Linked DNA regions of Homo sapiens: all the other regions are linked to region 1. Evidence: promoter capture Hi-C in human tissues and cell types (Jung and others, 2019). All regions are on one chromosome and are shown on one strand. Each heading gives the region's core, a stretch centred on a gene start or on the middle of the fragment in contact. The rest is flanking DNA. Distances are from core to core; before and after follow the strand shown. Region 1 holds the start of ZNF365 (zinc finger protein 365). Region 2 has its middle 29 kb from the start of CABCOCO1. Region 3 has its middle 92 kb from the start of NRBF2. Region 4 has its middle 98 kb from the start of LINC02625.

Region 1 (4,487 bases), core at 614-3,113:
CAGGGATATCTGCTTTCCTCAAAAGCCTTCTGTTGCATTACTCTAAAAGTCCTGGGAGGGGGGAAATAGGTAGTTTACAAGTCGGCTGAAAAACACACTACTAAAATGATTGCTGCTCATCTCCATGACAGCAGAGGCTTTTTGGTTTCAAGTGACTTTTGCACATAATATTTTATGTTGCACTTAAAACCTACAGCCCATGGGCCAAATCCATCCACATCAATTTCTGCATTATTTACTGCTGCCGTATCAATTTCTGTATTATTTATTGTAAACCACAATGGCAGTGGTGAGTAACTGAGACAGAGACTCTATGCTCCTAAAAGCTAAAATATTTACTACCTTTACAGAAAAAGTTTGCCAACTCCTACCTAGAATCAAAAAGGTGGGTAACATTCCCTCTCCACAGAAGAGAACACTGAAGCAAGGAAGTAAAGCCATTAATCCAAGGTCAGATGGAAAGTGGTAGATCCAGAAGTGGAATTCAAGTTTCCTCCCCTCCTGAATTTGGCACACTAAATGCAAAACCGTGCCCCATTTTAAGGATACAATCCGAGATGCGTGAACACAAGAACATATGAAAACTCACATGAATTGTCAAAATGGGTCCTAAGACAGCAAGCTCAGGACCTATCCTCAAGTACAGGAAAGATTACTCAAGCTATGCACAGTGGCATTAAGCCTGCAATCAGCTGAAAATTTTTCACCCTGAAATTTTTGCCTTTTTTTCCTTCAGGTATTGCTGTGATGACATAAACCAAAGTGCTAATCGTAACAATAACAGACCCCATACGTGAGTTTCACTGAAACCTGGGGACCCAATGTGTCAAATACCATTTGGCATAAGTGGGGCCATGGCCAAGATTTTTATTATAATAGAGTGTTCTGGACGGATTTGTCTTGTCTCAGATGCTATTTTATATGACAACCTCTAGGGATGGTCAGTGTGTGAACCAGGTAGGTATCAGCATACTCTCTTAATAACAGGAAGTTCTGGTTTCCTTGTAGGAATGCATTATCTTCACCCTAGCAACAGATGACTGTTGGCAACCCAATTCTGCAAGCAGTGCATATCTTCTATTCCTCCATGAAAGGTTTCTACTTAAATGTAACAAGCATTGGACCCGAAATGAGGGAGCCCAGCTGGGGTCTTTGGGTGAAAAGTGTCCTCAACCTCTTCAAAAGCAGAGGTGCAAATGGTCCCCAGGCAGCGAGGCAGGCAAGGCTTCTAGGTGAAGCCCCCGGCCCCCAGAGAGGGGAACCTCTTCCTGTGATGGGTACACCGGGATGTTTAACCACTGGTTTTCTGGGAACGAGATGCAAACCCTGGCTCAGCATAGGGCCAAAGACGCTGACAAGAGGTAAGGAAAGGGGAAGTCAGGATTCTAAGGGGGCAATGGGAAAAGGGTGGCATTTTGGATGGGGAAATGGGTAATCACACACTCCAGAGCACGCAGGCTTTTATGGGCCCAGAGGAAACCCAGTCCACTGGGCTGATGAAGAGCCCTAAGTGACTCTGCCAGAGAAGGGCAGGCTGGCAATGACCCTGCCCCGGGGTCCCAGCTCTCCCCGCCCCCTCTCCGCTGCGTGCCAGCCCACGGGTGCCAGAGTGGATTCGTGTGCACATGAGTTCCTGCTGGTGGGGGCCGGGAAGCCGGCTCTCCCAACTCCCCGCCATGCTGCGGGCTCGGGGACCCCCTCCCCAGCCCCGGCCACCCCGGCAGGTCCCCTCCGCCGAGCCGCGGGCGCAGATGGCCGGCGGCCGCCTCTTACCCGACTTGTTGCTGCTGCTGCTGCAGCCGCCGCCTCCGGTGCTGATGCTGCGGGAGCGAAGCGGTTTTCAGCAGAGCCGTAAATCAGACTGAGCCGGGCCGGCTCCCACTCCCCGCCGCACCTCCGCGCCGGGACCGGCGGCGTCCAGGGCGGAGCGAGGCGCGGCTAGCCAGCGGGGGCGGCGCTCGCGGGCACCGTGGGGCACCGCGCCGTGGGTGCGGGGGTTCCGGAACGCCGCGGCCCAGGGCTGCCACCTCCGCGGGGAACACCCTTGCTCTGCCCAGCTGGCGGGAGCATCATCTGCCCCCCCGCCACCCAGCCGGGAGCCCGATCCGACTCAGGATTACACTGACATCACTGCGAGAGATGCTGGGATCATTCCCCGGGGGAGGGAAGGAAAGACGCGTGTCAGCCTCGCAGTCGCGGCGCTTTCTGCAGGCCCTGGCAAGCTTTTTTGCACTAGTTTGGGGGGAGCGGGAGAGTGTGGATGAGGATGCAGCATAGCTGGGCATCTTCTTTGAAAATCTACCCGTTGGAAGGTCCGGGTATTTAATTAGGACCTCTTCATCCCAAGCAGCAGGGCGAGAATGTCCCAAAATAACTAACCCAGAGAGTACACTCCAGCCTTCCTAGCCAAGTGTCCTGAGGCTACGTTAACAGGCAGAACTAAATCTAGTAAAGTGCAGGGATTAATGAACAAACAGTTAAAGCAACAAGATCCCTCACCTACACCCCCATTTCTGAGGCGGACGCCCCTTTCCCTGGAGAAAAAATTTGTCCTCCTAAAGAGGGGATGTCCTGAAGAGAAGACGGCAAATCATTCCTTCTGAAGGACTCTGATGTCTCAGCTTGCTGGGCTTTTGCTTTTTTTTTTTTTTTTTTTTTTTTTTAACCTGTTTTGGTTTACCCCTACTGTAACTCCTGAAATGTGAAACCTAGATAAAAGTTACTGCTGGGTTTTCTTGTTCAAAGAAGAGAAGAGATTCTGTTCATCTGTAGACAGTTAATGCATCCTCTTGACTTCTCAGGGTGTCTTTTCTCAAGGCTTGCTGTTACTCATTTCAACACCCGATTTTATTTTAACGGTAAAGAGCTCAACAGTTATCTTAGTTGAAATTTTGTTTTGTTTTTGACAAATGAAAACAAATGAATTGCTTTGTTTTTTCACAAATGAATTATCACATCAAATGCAATGAAGATCCCAAGCTCTGGCATCAGACTTGATTCAAATCCTGGTTCTAGGGCCTGGGTCAAGTAACTAGACTTTTCTGTTCCTTCAATTCCTCATCTATGAAATGAAGATAATCAAGACCTACCTCTTAATATAGCGGTGGATCGAATGTGCTATGATGATGGAGGTAAAAACCCTGCCTGACAGGGACACACACTGATAAAGTCAGCTGTTATCGTTGTTGCTACTTCATTTATAATTATTATTAATTCCATAAAAAAGGGGCCTACACACATTTAAAAAGCAGGAAGGAGAAGAGGAATTAATATGTACTAACTTCTACGTAAATGGAGATAGGCTATTGTGCTGGGGTGTGTTTGCTTTGAAAATATTATATCTCATTGAAGTTACTTTTTGACTCGCTCTCAAGACTATTCCAAGAATCAATTTATTTAGTACAAAATCTTAAAGTCTGAAAGATACACTCATTGGAGTGCCAAGTTATCTCCGTCATCTTGTGAGGTGCCTGCAGGTTAACCTCTTACACCCACTGCCTTCATGGCAAAACATAACAAAAGCATGCTCTGGTCCTCCCTTCCCCCCCGCCCCTTTTTTTTTTTTTTTTTTTTTTTTGAGACGGAGTCTCACTCTGTCTCCCAGGCTGTAGTGGCGCGATATCAGCTCACTGCAACCTCTGCCTCTTGGGTTCAAGCGATTCTCCTGCCTCAGCCTCCCTAGTAGCTGGGATTACAGGTCCCTGCCACCACCCGGCCAATTTTTGTATTTTCAGTAGAGACGGGGTTTTGCCGTGTTGGCCAGGCTGGTCTTGAACTCCTGACCTCAGGTGATCTACCGGCCTCGGCCTCCCAAAGTGCTGGGATCACAGGCGTGAGCTACCGCGCCCAGCCAGCTCCTCCCATTTCTTAGACAGCTGCTACTTCTTTTTTGGTCCTAAGTTCCTCCCCTGTTAAATGAGAGGATGGAGATTTTCAAAGTCCTTTTCTCACCCTAAAAATATAAAATATTATCAAATAATTATGGAGAGGTTATTCTGTGCAGGGCCTAAAGCTGAGTATTGTGGGAAATTCAACTTGGTCAACAGGCATTTAGGACCTTAAGTGGTTCTCAAAGTGTCACTTGTGTATACCACCAATTACCTCATTTAATCTTTGAACACCTGTGAGGTAGGGAGGACCTTGTACACTCAGTTCTAGCCACCTTGGCATCCCTTTACTTAAGAGCCCTGCTTTTTCCCGTCTCTAGGGCCTCTTTATCTGGTAATGCCTACTCATCCCTCAGAGCTCATCCCAAGTATGCCCTCTCTGAGGAGGTCTTCCCTGACACTCCTGGACAAGGTTAGTGCGTACTAGGAAAATTTATTATGACAGGATTTGTCACAATAATTCTATGTGCTGGGTTATGGATGTAGTTGTCTGTTTAATATTTATGTCCACTGTTAAGTTGTAAGCTATGTGAGTCAGGGTCCTTGTCTGTCTTACTCTCCAGTATATTCCCAGGACTTAGCACAGTGCTGATCAAAGTG
Region 2 (4,487 bases), core at 713-3,212, 740 kb after region 1:
ACTTCATCCAAGAAAGGCTCAGTTTCTGGGAACTGAATGCTTCCTAATTCAAATTAAGTAGTGAAAGAAAATCTCTTTTGGTAGCTCTCAAAGAAGAGTATAGAAATTTATTTTTTAAAGAAACTCTCAGCAAAGATCTTCTTGTGTTTCATTGACCCCCACTAGGATCTGGTTGTTATGTCAGAGATTGAATGTGTTAATTGGTTAGCCAGAATCCATTTCTGGTGTGGAGAATAGAGTCAGCTTTTCCTGTGCTAAATACTATGTTGGAGAAGCAAGGACACACAAAAGGAGATTAGGGAATGCTTACTCAGAGAGAAGGACAATGGATAAAAGTAGGCCAAAATATGCACTACATATTCCCAAAGCTACTGGTGTGTTCCAAATTTGAGGTCTCGTGTTAGATGTGACCTCAGCTCTCTATTTTATATAACATCGAATTATTTTCCTGTACACTGATTAAAAGTCATTATGAACATAGTATATTAGCATGGAGGTATTTAAAGAATTACATCTATTTGTACTCAAACTTTCTCAATCTCTTCCCAAAGCAGTGACCCACAGAAGAGTTTGCTATTCTTGGACAGGAGGTCTAGATTAATTATAATAAATATAGCACATTCTGAGCAATTCTGAATCTGGAGTGTGGTATTTGAAGCTTTGAAACCAAAGACAAATTACTGGCATTATTTTGTATTATCATGTAACTGAATTTTCATCTTCAGAAAAAAGTCTTATTAAGCAAGATAGAAATGAGACTGTAATGGATTCATTGGAATCATTTTGGCCAAAACCACATTTTCTACTTTTAGCAAATTACAGCATTATCAACATGTAATCCTTCTTATTTTCCCACATATTATTTAACAAAATATTAGTCAAGTTGGAAATTATTTTTTTGTTGCTATCAAGGAAATGTATGCTCTCAATTCTGGCATCCTTCAAGCATTTACAGATGATACTTCACAAATGTCTGAGGATACAGTGTTTATCCAAGCTGCAGTAGACTAAAAATAATTATGGCTCCAAAGTGGTTTGCATCCCCATGGAGAATATATACCTCACTGACAGGAAAATAATCACAGAACCAAATGATACCAAGTACAACAAAGTGATGCAACCGTAAACTCTCAGAGAACTTTCAGAATACAAAATTATTTTGGACTTTGTGGTTTTTGAGTGCACCAATGAGTCTCATGATAGTGACTGAGTTCCCTAGAAGAATGCAGTATTTTGGACAGTCTGTTAGTACTTGGAGCCATGGATTTTTTTGAGTCAGATGAAAGACACAAATACTCATACCAGAAAACTGCTTTTCCACCCCAAATTTTGTATAGCGTTTTGGGGGTTCATGTACTCCCTACAGCTCATTTTTAGACCTAAGTAAATATAAACCATTTTTTATCAGAATGCAAAATGCAGCCCGCCTTCCTTGAATTTTAAAATTTAATATCTGGCTTCTTACTGGCAAAGATGTGATTTGAAAGACCTGAGTTCAATGTTCCCCAAAATATATTTCTAGTAGTTTAATCTAACAGGAATAAGAACCTAAGAAGGAGTAAGAAAAATGTAGCATCAATGGATTCTTCTAATGCCTTACACATAGTAGGTACAATGAGTCTTATATAAATTAATGAAAAGTCAGTCTTAAAATTATGCAGAGCTAGCAGCTCAATTCCAATGTTATAAAAGCAATAATGGGCAAGTACTTATTAAATGATTCCCGGTTATTTTTGTCATACACAAACTACTTCATTATTGTACAATTTTTAGGCTTCTAAATAAAGTTTTCTTAATATGTGAATTCACTGGAATACACAAAGTAGTTAAAGTGCCTGGCTAGTTTCCTTCCATTTTTTTGCCTTTATAACTTCAGTGAAGTGTTATTTTTTAAAAATACATAATATATCATGTTTATGCTGGTACACAAATAATTCCATGAAGATGTTTCTTACATTCTAGATTTTAGAGTTGATTTTACATCTGTCTTTTGATTTTTATAATTGCTAATAAGCTGAGTGTTTTCTAAAATCAGTGTTCTCACTGGAGAGATCTGAAACATCGACTCAAATGACTGAAAAAACACGACTGGTCCTAACGCTGAGCAAAACTATGTGGAAAATTTGTAATGATTTGTAAACATTTCACACTTATTATGATTCAGATATGGACTGTGGCCCAGAAAAGATTTGGATTTATTTTGATTGTCCCTGTAATTAGCTCAGCAATGTTTTTCTAAGTTATGATTTCATGCTGACTATTAGAAGTTGCACATTGTTGAGATGCCACATGCAAAGAAGTTATGGGATTATATGGCAATAATTAAACACACTATAAGGTAAATTAATCAGGACTGCAAACCAAGAAAACATGAAGTAAATGTAACATAAATAGACTTAAGAAGGCAAACTGATATCTTGTCTTATGTTTTAGATAAAATTCTAAGCACATAGCCCAATTCAATTTTGTACAAGCAGAGAAAAACTACAGTACTAATGAGAAATATGGACTTTGCTACTATATTGTTACCATCAGTGTGGAGATCAAGGGAACATGTGTTGGCCCACATGCTATACTACTGATATCTTTTATTCTGGGATGAGTGACAGCAGGACTGGCTACTAATTTGTGGGGCCCAGTGAAAAATGGAAATGCAGGAGTCCTTGATCACCATTCATTAAGGATTTCAAGATGGCGACCAAAAGTTTTAGACCCAGCATGGGGTTCCACATGATGACCTGTCCTGGTAATAAGAGAAGAAGGGAGTCAGAGAGGTGCTTCTGAATTCCATCTGTCCCTCTCTCCCACTCCTCCTGGGCTCTGCAGAGATGTTCAGACCAAGACCAAGGAAAGAACCAGCTCTCTGTTTGGTACAAGTTTTGAAGGCAAGTAAGATGACAAGGGCTGTTCCTTTCTAAAATCTATCCTCAAGATAGGTTGTGAGGATTAATGAGTTAATATCAGAAATTGCTACAGGGTAAATCTTCACTTGCCTAAAAGAGCATAAAATTTTTATTTTGTCTTTTATGCTTTCTGACAATCCCTTCAGTCTGCCACTAGGCTTTTAGTGGAGCGTGTGGAGAATTTAGGACAAGATGATGAATCTTACTCAAGGGCATCTTGATAGCTTTGCAAACTTAATGCAATAATGTAGGTCTTGGGCCCTGTGTCATGAAGTAAACAAAGACAGCTGAAATTTCAGACAAAAGAGGCTATAGCTCATCTATTGTCATTATTTAGGAGACAAATTACAGCAATGAGTATTTTTTTCCCTTAAAATCCCTTTTATTTTTGCATGTCTACTTAATTTTATTTTGAACAACTAGAAAGCTACAGAGATACTCCGTTGAATGTTTAAAGCTGTAATTTATTTTAAACAGTGCGTACAGAATATATTTTGGCCTTGAAAAGTTAAAAAAAAAAAGGTAGGTTGTACAACTTGGAAGCTGGGTAAAGCCCCAAATGAAGGCTTTTGGAAGAGCTAGGACAGAAGGAAAGTGGCAGTCTTCTTGGGTTTTGCACAAATGTGAGAGTCCAGAGTCCACATAGGCTCCTGCTCTATTGCCACAGCCTGAGCTGTGCCTTTGGTCTTAGGAGCCACCTGAGGGCATCTACTGTTCTGAGTCACTAAAAAAAAAAAAAAAAAGTGCTAATGAGGCATTTAACACTTGTACTGCACTGAGCTAAGAAAGAGGCTGCCTATAAGCAGGGAAAATAGCCAGAGGCAGCCAAAGGTAAGAAAGGAAGGGCAGGGATGCCAGCATACATCTAACAGTTTAGGACAGTAACTGGTTCAACTTTATTTATTTATTTATTTATTTATTTATTTATTTATTTATTTATTTATTTCTGAGATGGACTCTCTCTCTGTCGCCCAGGCTGGAGTGCAGTGGCTCGATCTCAGCTCACTGCAACCTCTGCCTCCTGGGTTCAAGAGATTCTCCTGCCTCAGCCTCCCTAGTAGCTGGGACTACAGGCACATGCCACCACGCCCGCTAATTTTTGTATTTATTTTTATTTTTATTTTTTTAGTAGAGACAGGGTTTCATCATGTTGGCCAGGCTGGTCTCAAACTCCTGACCTCAAGTGATCTCCCTGCCTTGGCCTTCCAAAATGCTGGGATTACAGGTGTGAGCCATCGCGCCTGGCCTGGTTCAACATTTAGACTTGGAGGCTTCTTTTTCTTTGTCCAGTGCCTGCAAACCAGTTCCTTCCTTCAAGGAGCTTTCAGACTTGCAGTGGAGATCAGGATATCAGTAAGTGTGGAAAATAATGATAACTTTGTGAAGGATTTGAAGAAGATAAGGGAAAGAGAGAGAAAAAGAAAACTTTACTAAGGAAGGTGCTTTCAGGAGTCAAACCTTGAGGGCTATTGGTGGGGAAAATGGGCAGAAATGGGAAGGCAACAGGGACTGTACTCTGAAGAGAATATTATGGAATACCTACTGTGCCTGGATGGAGCAGAACACTTTTCATATATCTGTCTC
Region 3 (4,487 bases), core at 1,174-3,673, 670 kb before region 1:
GGAATTTCTTTGAGTTTATCCTACTTGGAGTTTGTTGAAGTTCTTGGATGTGTAGATTTATGTCTTATATAAAATGTGGGAAGTTTTCAACCATTATTTATTTAAACATTCTGTCTTTATCTTTCTTTTCTCTTTCCTGGAACTTATATTTTACATATATTGGGATGCCTGATGATGTACCACAGATCTCTGAGGCTCTGTTCAATCTTCTTTATTCTTTCTGTTCCTTAAACAAGATAATATTAACTGATCTACCTTAAAGTTCATGGAATCTTCCTTCTTCCTGCCTGAATATGCTGATGAGTCTTTCTAATGAAATTTTCACTTCAGTTATCACATTTTCAACTTTGTTTATTTCTTAAATAATTTGTATCTCTTTAGTGATATTCTCTATTTTATCAGGCATCATTATACTTTTAGTTTTTTAGACACGGTTTCCTTTAGCTCTTTGAACATATTTAAAATAGCTGGTTTAAGTTCCTTGGCTAGGAAACCCAGCATTTGGGTTTTCTTTTTTTTTTTTTGAGAAGGAGTCTTGCTCTGTTGCCCAGGCTGGAGTGCAGTGGCACGATCTCAGCTCACTGCAAGCTCTGCCTCCTGGGTTCACGCCATTCTCCTGCCTCAGCCTCCTGAGTAGCTGGGACTACAGGCACGCACCACCACACCTGGCTAATTTTTGTATTTTTAGTAGAGACGGGGGTTCACCGTGTTAGCCAGGATGGTCTCGATCTCCTGACCTCGTGATCCGCCTGCCTCAGCTTCCCAAAGTGCTGGGATTACAGGTGTGAGCCACTGCGCCTGGCTGGGTTTTCTCAGATATAATTTTTACTGATTTTTTTTTTTCTGTATATGGGCCAGACTTTCTTTTCCACAATTTTTACTGATTTCTTTTTTTTTTTTTTCCTGTTTGTGAGCCATACCTTCCTGTTCCTTTGAACGCCTCATCATTGTTTTTCTTTGTTGAAAGCTGGATATTTTGAATAATATAATGTGGCAACTCTGGAAATCAGATTCTACCTCCTTCTCAAGGTTTATTTTTGGTGCTGCTTGTTGCAGTTGTAGTTGTTTTGTTTAGTGACTTTACTAAACCAAGTCTATACAGTCTGTGTTTTCTGTTATGTGTGGCCAATGCTGTCTCTATTCTATTAGCTTAGTGGTCAGCTAATGAGAGAACAGTTGCCTTAGAGGCATGGAATTTAAAAATCTTCCAGACTTTGTGGAAGGGCCACGTGTATGTTTTGGGGCATGCCTTCCAACACTCAGCCAGGCAATTGATAACTCTGCATTTGCCTTCACTTCCTGCTTGCGCAGAGCCATGACGTCATTCAGAGATAAGGTCTTAGGGCTTTCTCTGGTCTTTGCTGAGTATGTACATTGCCCTGAGTGGCATGTGGCCTTTTAGATTTCCAGGAGTAATCAAAGCCCATACGTAAATCTCATTCCCCTGCCTTTCTTCTCAAGATTTTGGTTAGTGTGTGGTTTGCTACAAATGTTATCCATTGTCTCAGGCAGCAGCAACTAAAATATTTGCCTGGAAATATTTTTGACAAATGGCCTTTGGGTAGTGGATTTAGCATTTAGTTACCAAATTAGGCAAAATAAAGATAAGCCTTTTGAGTGGGTCTTTCAGGAAGCCATCAGACAGATCGAATAAAGAGAATTCTTTTCAAGTGAGGTCTGTCTGTTCTTTATATTACCAAGTATATGGTATATTATTCTTAAGGATATTGCTTAACTGGGGAGTGAGGGATGGGTCTAGGGAAAGATAAAATGCCACAAAGCTCATAAATAAATTGTTATTACCAATATTCATTTGTTTTTCCTGAAAAACAGAAAGTTCCCTTGTGCCTCTTCCCAGTCCATTAATCTCTCCCATCCACAATAATTGATGTGATTTATATCACCATAGGCTAATTTTACCTATTCTAAAGCTTCATGTAAGTGGAATTATAAGTTATGTACATTTAAACAAATTAACCTTTTCATTTTGAGACAATTTTAGACAGATTTACAGGCAATTATAAGAAATAATACAGAGATTCTGTGTAAATTTTACCCAGTTTTTCCCAATGGTACTGTCTTGCAAAACCATAGTACAATAATCACAACAAAGATACTGATATTAATACAGTCAAGATACCGAACATTTCTATCACCACAGGAATCTTTCATGTTGTTATTTTATAGATACACCCACTTCCCTCCTACTCCCTCCGTATCCCTAACCCCTGGCAATTACTATTTTTTCTCTATTTCTAAAGTATTGTCTTTTGAAGAATGTTACATAAATGAAATAATATAGTATGTAACATTTTGGTTTGGCTTCTTTTTCACTGAATATAATTCTCTGGATATTCATTCAAAATATTGTGTGCATCCGTAGTTGGTTTCTTCAAATTGCTGAGAAGTATTCCATGATATGAATATACTGCAGTTTGTTTAACCATTTATTCGTTAAAGACAGCTGAGTTGTTTCCAGTTTTGGCTATTATGGATAAACCTGCTATAAACATTCATGTACAGGTTTTTGTGTGAAAATAAATTTTCGTTTCTCTTGGGGATGCACAAGATTGGAATTTCCAGTGAAACCATCTGTGTCTGGATATTTCTTTTTTGGGAGTTTTAAAATTATGAATTAAACTTTCTTAATAGTTATACGGCTATTCATATCATCTATTTCATATTGAGCGATTTGTAGTGTCTTTAATTGAAAAAAAAAAAAAAGGTCCATTTTGGCAGAGTGTGGTGGCTCATGCCTGTAATCCCAGCACTTTGGGAGGCTGAGGTTGGTGGATTGCTTGAGCCCAGGAGTTTGAGACAAGCCTGGGCAATATGGAGAGACCCTGTCTCTACAAAAAAAATACAAAAATTAGCCAGGTATGGTGGTCCACGGTTGTAGTCTCAGCTATTTGGGAGACTGAGGAGGGAGGATCACTTGAGCCTGGGAGTTCAAGGCTGCAGTGAATTATGTTTGCACGACTGCACTCCAGCCTGGGTGGCAGAGTGAGACCTCAAAAAAAAAAAAAAAAAACAAATCATTTTTTGGTCTAAGTTGTCAAATATATGTGTATAGTGTTATTCTTAATATTCCCTTATTACTCCTTTGATTTCTGCGTAGTCTTTAGTGATATACTCTGTTTACTTCCTAAGTTAGCAATTTCTGTCCTCTTTTATTCTTTGTTAATCTTGCTAGAGATTTTACAGCTTTTTTCAATTAACCAGTTATTTTTAAAATCAATTTTCTCTTGTTTTTCTGCTTTCCATTTCATTAATTTCTTCTTTTATCTTTATTATTTTCTTTTTTTAAAAACAATTTAAATCTTTTTTTTTCCATCCATGGGACTCCGCTTGATAAATCTTTATTATTTTCTTTTTTCTGTTTGCTTTGGGTTTATTTTGCTCTACTTACTCTAAGTTTTTGAGTTGGGAGCTTAGATTATTGATTTGTAATGTTTCTGTCTTCTTAAATGTATGCATTTAGTGCATACATTAAATAAATTTCTCTCTTAACACTGCTTTAGCGCAAATTTTCATATGCTGTATTCTCATTTTCATTCATTTCAATATACTTAAAAAAAATTCCCCTGAACCTCCTCTTTGATCCTCTTTGACCTCATGTCTTTTTTAAAAGTGTGTTGTTTGGTTTTTAAGTGTTTGCAAGTTTTCCTTTTATCATTCTGTTACTGATTTCTAGTTTGATTCCATTATTGTCAGAGAGCACACTGTATGATTGCAATTCTTTTAAATGTTTGGAGGTTTGTTTTATGGCCCAGGATAAGGGCTATCTTATGGTATATGTTCTGTGAGCACTTGAAAAGTATTCGTATTCTGCTATAATGTGCTCTATAATGTTTAGATCTTGTTGGTTGATGTTGATTTTGCAACTTTCCTTTTTTCTTTTAGAGACAGAGTCTCACGTGTCACCCAGGCTGGAGTGCAGTGGCACAATCTTGGCTCACTGCAACCTCCACCTCCCAGGTTCAAGCAATTCTCATCCCTCAGCAACCTGAGTAGCTGGGATTACAGGTGTGCGGCACCATACCTAGCTAATTTTTATACTTCTAGTAGAGACGGGGTTTCACCATGTTGGCCAGGCTGGTCTTGAGCTCCTGGCATCAAGAGATCTGCCTGCTTCTGCCTCCCAAAGTGCTTGGATTATAGGTGTGAGCCACTGCACCTGGCCTATGTTGTTGATTTTTTTAAAATATATTCTTGCTCACTTTTTGTCTAGTTGTCCTATCAAATTTTGGGAGAGGTGTGTTGTACCTGCTAGTTATAATCATGGATTTGTCTGTTACTTCAGTTCTATCAGTTTTTGCTTCTTTGGAGTCTGTTGTTTGATGCATTTAGATTTAGGATTGCTATGTCTTTTTGGGGATTAATCTTTTTCATCATTATATAATGTCCCCTTCTGTCTCTAGTAACCAGTTTTTTTTTTTTTTGCTCTGAAGTCTACTTTATCTGAAATTAATATAGTCAGTCCTATT
Region 4 (4,487 bases), core at 1,359-3,858, 610 kb after region 1:
GACTAATATTCTTTTTTAAAAATTAATAGATTTTATTCTTTTAAAACAGTTTTAGATTTTTTTAGAAAAGTTGTAGATTTGTAGAATAATTGAGCAGATAGTACAGAATTCCCCTATACAGTCCCCACTCCACCACTGCACACAGTTTCCTGTTAGTATTATTATTAATCTTACATTAGTATAGTACATTTGGTGCAACTGATGAACTACTATTGACACATTTTTATTAATTGAGTTTCATAGTTTATTCATATTTTTTAAGATTTCCCTTTTCTGTTCCAGAATCCCATCCAGGATACCTTACTACAATTGTTGTCATTCTCTTTACGCTCCTCTTTGCTGTGACATTTTCTTACACTTTCCTTGTTTTGATGATTTTGGCAGTTTTGAGGAGTACTAATCAGGTATAGACTGTTCCTTCACTGGAATTTGCCTGATGTTTTCATCACGATTAGACTGGGGTTTTAAGTTTTTGGCATGAAGATCGCAGAGATCTTCACCATTTTCACCTCATATCAAGGGTACATGCATTAACATGATTTATTGACTGTTGATGTTGACCTTGATCACCTGGCTGAAGCAGTGTTTGTCAGGTTTCTCAACTATGAAAGCATTACTTTTTCCATACTATATTCTTTGGAAGTCTGTATGTACAGCCCATACATCAGTGGAGTTATACTCCTCCTCCTTTGAGTGGAGTATCCATATAATTTATTTGGAATTCTGCAAAGAAGATTTGGACCAAAATTATTTCAATAGGTGGGTTTATCTGGGTTTGAGGATTATCCTTCTAAGCATTTTGTGGTTATAATTCTGCATGTTCTTTTGAAAAAGAATATTCACTTGTGTGTCATCTGTCTCTAGATTATAAACGTCATTAATTCCATGGACTCCCTCAAGTCAAGGACCTTAATTGTCTTCTTTCATTCTGGTACTTAGAACGCCCAGAATAAATTACAAGCTAGATTAAAAGGAAGAAACAAACACCAAAATGACCATCGAAGACATTTTCAATGAACATTCTCTGAAGCTAAAAATTATATTAACATAAAACACTTTGGCAGCTCTGACAAATAAAATACGATAAACCAATCTTCTTCACTGCAGGTTCTTCTGTGAAAAGGAAAGTCATCCTGAAAGCGAAAGGAATTTTTAGTATTCTCTCTTTGGTTTGGAATTACTTTGATCTGGATGGAATTATTTTGATCTGGATTCATCTTTCTTTGGAAACTTAAATTAATAGGTATTATGGCTGTCATGAGGGGGTCTTGACTTCTCTTATTTAACAGATGAATGTCCAGGAAACAAATGACTTTCATGTCCAGAAGAGGGACGTCTTCCAGAGGCTGAAATTTGAGATGTCAGAAGTATTTCTCCTCTACAATTGTTGGGAAAAGGAGCACATTTATTTTCTAGGGGAACGGAAGCATAATGAAATGCAATCTAAGAACATGCAAACTTATTATCTACCAGGATGATTGAATGGTTCCAATCAAATGAAGGATAGAAATAGAGGCTTTATATTCAGATTTTGGAAAAATGACTCCACAGTTATATTAAGGCACAATAGTGCCTGCAAATACCTGAAATAGTGGTAGTCTGTGGCTTGTTTATAACATAATGAATATATTTGCTCTTTGAAACTTATCATGGGATCTATGCAAAAAGTTTTCCAAATTATTCCTGCAAATGGAAGAAACATACTTTATTGTGGATGATGACAGTAAAGCTTCTCCTAAGTGATAGGTTGGTATTATTTTTAAATTGGCTCTTCAGAGGGCAACCGTTATGCCAAAGACTACTTAGAGTAGGTGGACTCTGTCACTTTAAAAAAGTCAAACATTTTCTTTATTTCTCCCTCTCTTAGAAACTGCTATGAAGTGGTGCTATGACATCATTAGCAGTAGGACTCTTTTTATAAGAATATTCCCTTTTCCAGGTCTCCATAGATAGAAGTCTTGGTACTAGAGAGATGACCTTTTTAAAAACATAAATCTGATGTCACTTGCTACGTAACGTTTGTCAACAATGAGTCATTGTTTTTAAGTTAAAAATAAAAATCTGTGCCCAGGTGCGGTGGCTCACGCCTGTAATCCCAGCACTTTGGGAGGCTGAGGCGGGCGGATCACGAGGTCAGGAGATCGAGACCATCCTGGCTAACACCGTGAAACCCCGTCTCTACTAAAAATACAAAAAAATTAGCTGGGCATGGTGGCGGGCGCCTGTAGTCCCAGCTACTCAGGATGCTGAGGCAGGAGAATGACGTGAACCAGGGAGGCAGAGCTTGCAGTGAGCCGAGATGGCGCCACTGCACTCCAGCCTGGGCGACAGCGAGACTCCGTCTCGAAATAAATAAATAAATAAATAAAATAAAAATAAAAATAAAAAATAAAAATAAAAATCTGTAATATGGTCCACAACCCCACAACAACGTTGGCTCTGGACAATTGTTCAGCTTCAGCTTGTGTCCCAAGGACTTGGCACATGCCTCCTTCTGTCAGAAACACATCTTCCTTCACCTTCCCTCTGGTTAAATTTTACTTCTTGGGCCCAGCCCTGAAGTTACCCATAGGAAGCTTCTCTGACCTCTTAGATGCCACCAAGCTCCTTTGCCTTATATTCTCCTAACTCCCTGAGCTTGTCTTTACCACAGTTACTATTAACTGCCCCCACTAAATTATTAGGGCAGATACCATGTCTATTTGGCTCACCACTAAATGCCCAGGCACATAGAAGGTGCTCAACAAATACATAATACATGAATAGATGAATGGAAATGAGTTATGTATTCTATCCTTGGATACATTTTCCAAAAACTTAATACACTCATTAGCATAAGCAAGTTTGTTCCCTTACTATAGTAATAAGGGAACAACAACAAACTTGCTTATTCTAATAATATTATTATATAATAAGGAAAAGGAAAGGTTAGCTTTCCCTTGATTTCATGTCAACTATGAGATGGCCAGATGAAGATAAAGGTTAAGCACGTGGGTTTTGTGATCGTACAGGCCCAAGTTCCAAAGTTAATTCTACCACCTACTGGCAGTACGATCATGGAGAGTTACCTAAACTTTCTCTGTATTCCAGTTTCGTCATCTGTAAAATAGGTCAGACTTGGTTTGGAAGCCCCGTCCCACCAATTATTAAATGTGTAACTTGGTTTAGGTTAATAATCCCTCTAAGCTTCAGGCTCCATAACTATAAAATGAGGCTAACTATTAAAGGCTAATAGTATCTACCTATCATCTCTCTCTCTCTCTCTGTCTCTCTCTCTCTCTCGGTTATTAGGAAGACTAAATGAATATAGTCTTCCTAATAACCATAATATATATATTATCATCACACATTATATATGTTACATGAATATATATATATATTTTCTTATAAACATATGAAAAGGTGTTCAACCCATGTGGAGTAAAACAATAAAAGCAAATTAAAGCAGTAGCATGACATTATTTTCTATCAGAATATCAAAGACAAAAAATTGACTAATGTACGTTGTTGGTAAAATGTAGAGAAAGAGGTATTCTTATACACTGTTGGTGGGCATACAAAATGGTGAAATATCTTTGACAATATCTAAGAATATTGGAACGCACATACAACTGGACCTAGGAATTCCGCTTCTAGAGTTTTGACCTACAGGTATAATTATACACATTCACAAAGATGTGTGCGCAAGGGTGGCGATACAGCATGGTGATAACAAACTGCTGGAAACAAAAAAGTTCAGCAGGAGGACCCATCAAAAAATCGTGAAACTGATAAATATTACATGGTTGTTAAAATGTACTGATAGGGAATTATCTCTCAGATATATTACTTGATGAAAAAGGAATGTAAACAGCAATATTAATTGTGTAAAAAAAGACCACTTATGCATGTATCCAATTGTTCGAATGGGCAAAAAATACTTTTGAAAGTTGTGGTTGCTCTTGCTCCTATTATCATATCTGAAAGTTGGGTTGCCAGAGAGATCCCTGGGCTCCTCCACCATGGAAAATATAGGAGATCAGAGTGGCAGGGTGGCTACCATGGGATGACTTCAACAGAGGGAGAGGACATGCTGCCCCACAGGTGCCAGTGGAGAGACAGAGAAGGCTCGGAATTCTGGCAGACAGCCTAATCAAGCAACTGGGCAATGGGTATTAGGGATGGGCAGTGGCATATTGAGTCCTCATAACCACTTCAAAAATAAGTGTCACTTCCATTGAATAGATGAGCAAATAGAAGTTGAGTAGCCTGTCCAAGGTCACACACTCACCAGTGTGAAGCCAATATCACACTGTGGGAGTCTCAGTCTAGAGACCACAGCTTTAAGCACACTTACATATATTGTCTCTATATAGTGTTTAGGCATCCTAGTGCTATTTTGATTCAGTCTTAGAGTCCTGATACTTCTGACTGATACCCTTGCTCAAGTAAGCACTCTTTATTAGAAATTCAGGTCTACTCTGTGCCAACAATTGCACTTGAAGCTG

What was found. The method cuts DNA at HindIII sites, captures the fragments that hold promoters and counts their contacts. A contact is called where the count stands out against the background at its distance.
Region 2: a fragment that was not itself captured here is called in contact with the fragment with the promoter of ZNF365 in region 1 in 1 of the 25 tissues and cell types used here (hippocampus).
Region 3: a fragment that was not itself captured here is called in contact with the fragment with the promoter of ZNF365 in region 1 in 2 of the 25 tissues and cell types used here (IMR-90 fibroblasts and spleen).
Region 4: a contact is called between a fragment that was not itself captured here and the fragment with the promoter of ZNF365 in region 1, in 1 of the 25 tissues and cell types used here (spleen).

What each region holds. Positions count from the first base shown.
Region 1 is chr10:62,371,745-62,376,231 of GRCh38, reverse strand. ZNF365 (zinc finger protein 365) reads right to left here and starts at 1,863. Exons shown (of 5, transcript NM_014951.3): 1 at 1,774-1,863; 2 at 1-51. The coding sequence starts at 38. LOC283045 (a long non-coding RNA gene) reads left to right here and starts at 1,105. Exons shown (of 4, transcript NR_104162.1): 1 at 1,105-1,361. The HindIII fragment of the contact is 5,251 bases long and covers 1-4,487 here.
Region 2 is chr10:61,631,595-61,636,081 of GRCh38, reverse strand. No RefSeq gene overlaps it. Among named protein-coding and RNA genes, the nearest start is that of CABCOCO1, 29 kb to the left of the region's middle. The HindIII fragment of the contact is 7,774 bases long and covers 1-4,487 here.
Region 3 is chr10:63,039,279-63,043,765 of GRCh38, reverse strand. No RefSeq gene overlaps it. Among named protein-coding and RNA genes, the nearest start is that of NRBF2, 92 kb to the left of the region's middle. The HindIII fragment of the contact is 5,835 bases long and covers 1-4,487 here.
Region 4 is chr10:61,767,385-61,771,871 of GRCh38, reverse strand. No RefSeq gene overlaps it. Among named protein-coding and RNA genes, the nearest start is that of LINC02625, 98 kb to the left of the region's middle. The HindIII fragment of the contact is 4,332 bases long and covers 443-4,487 here.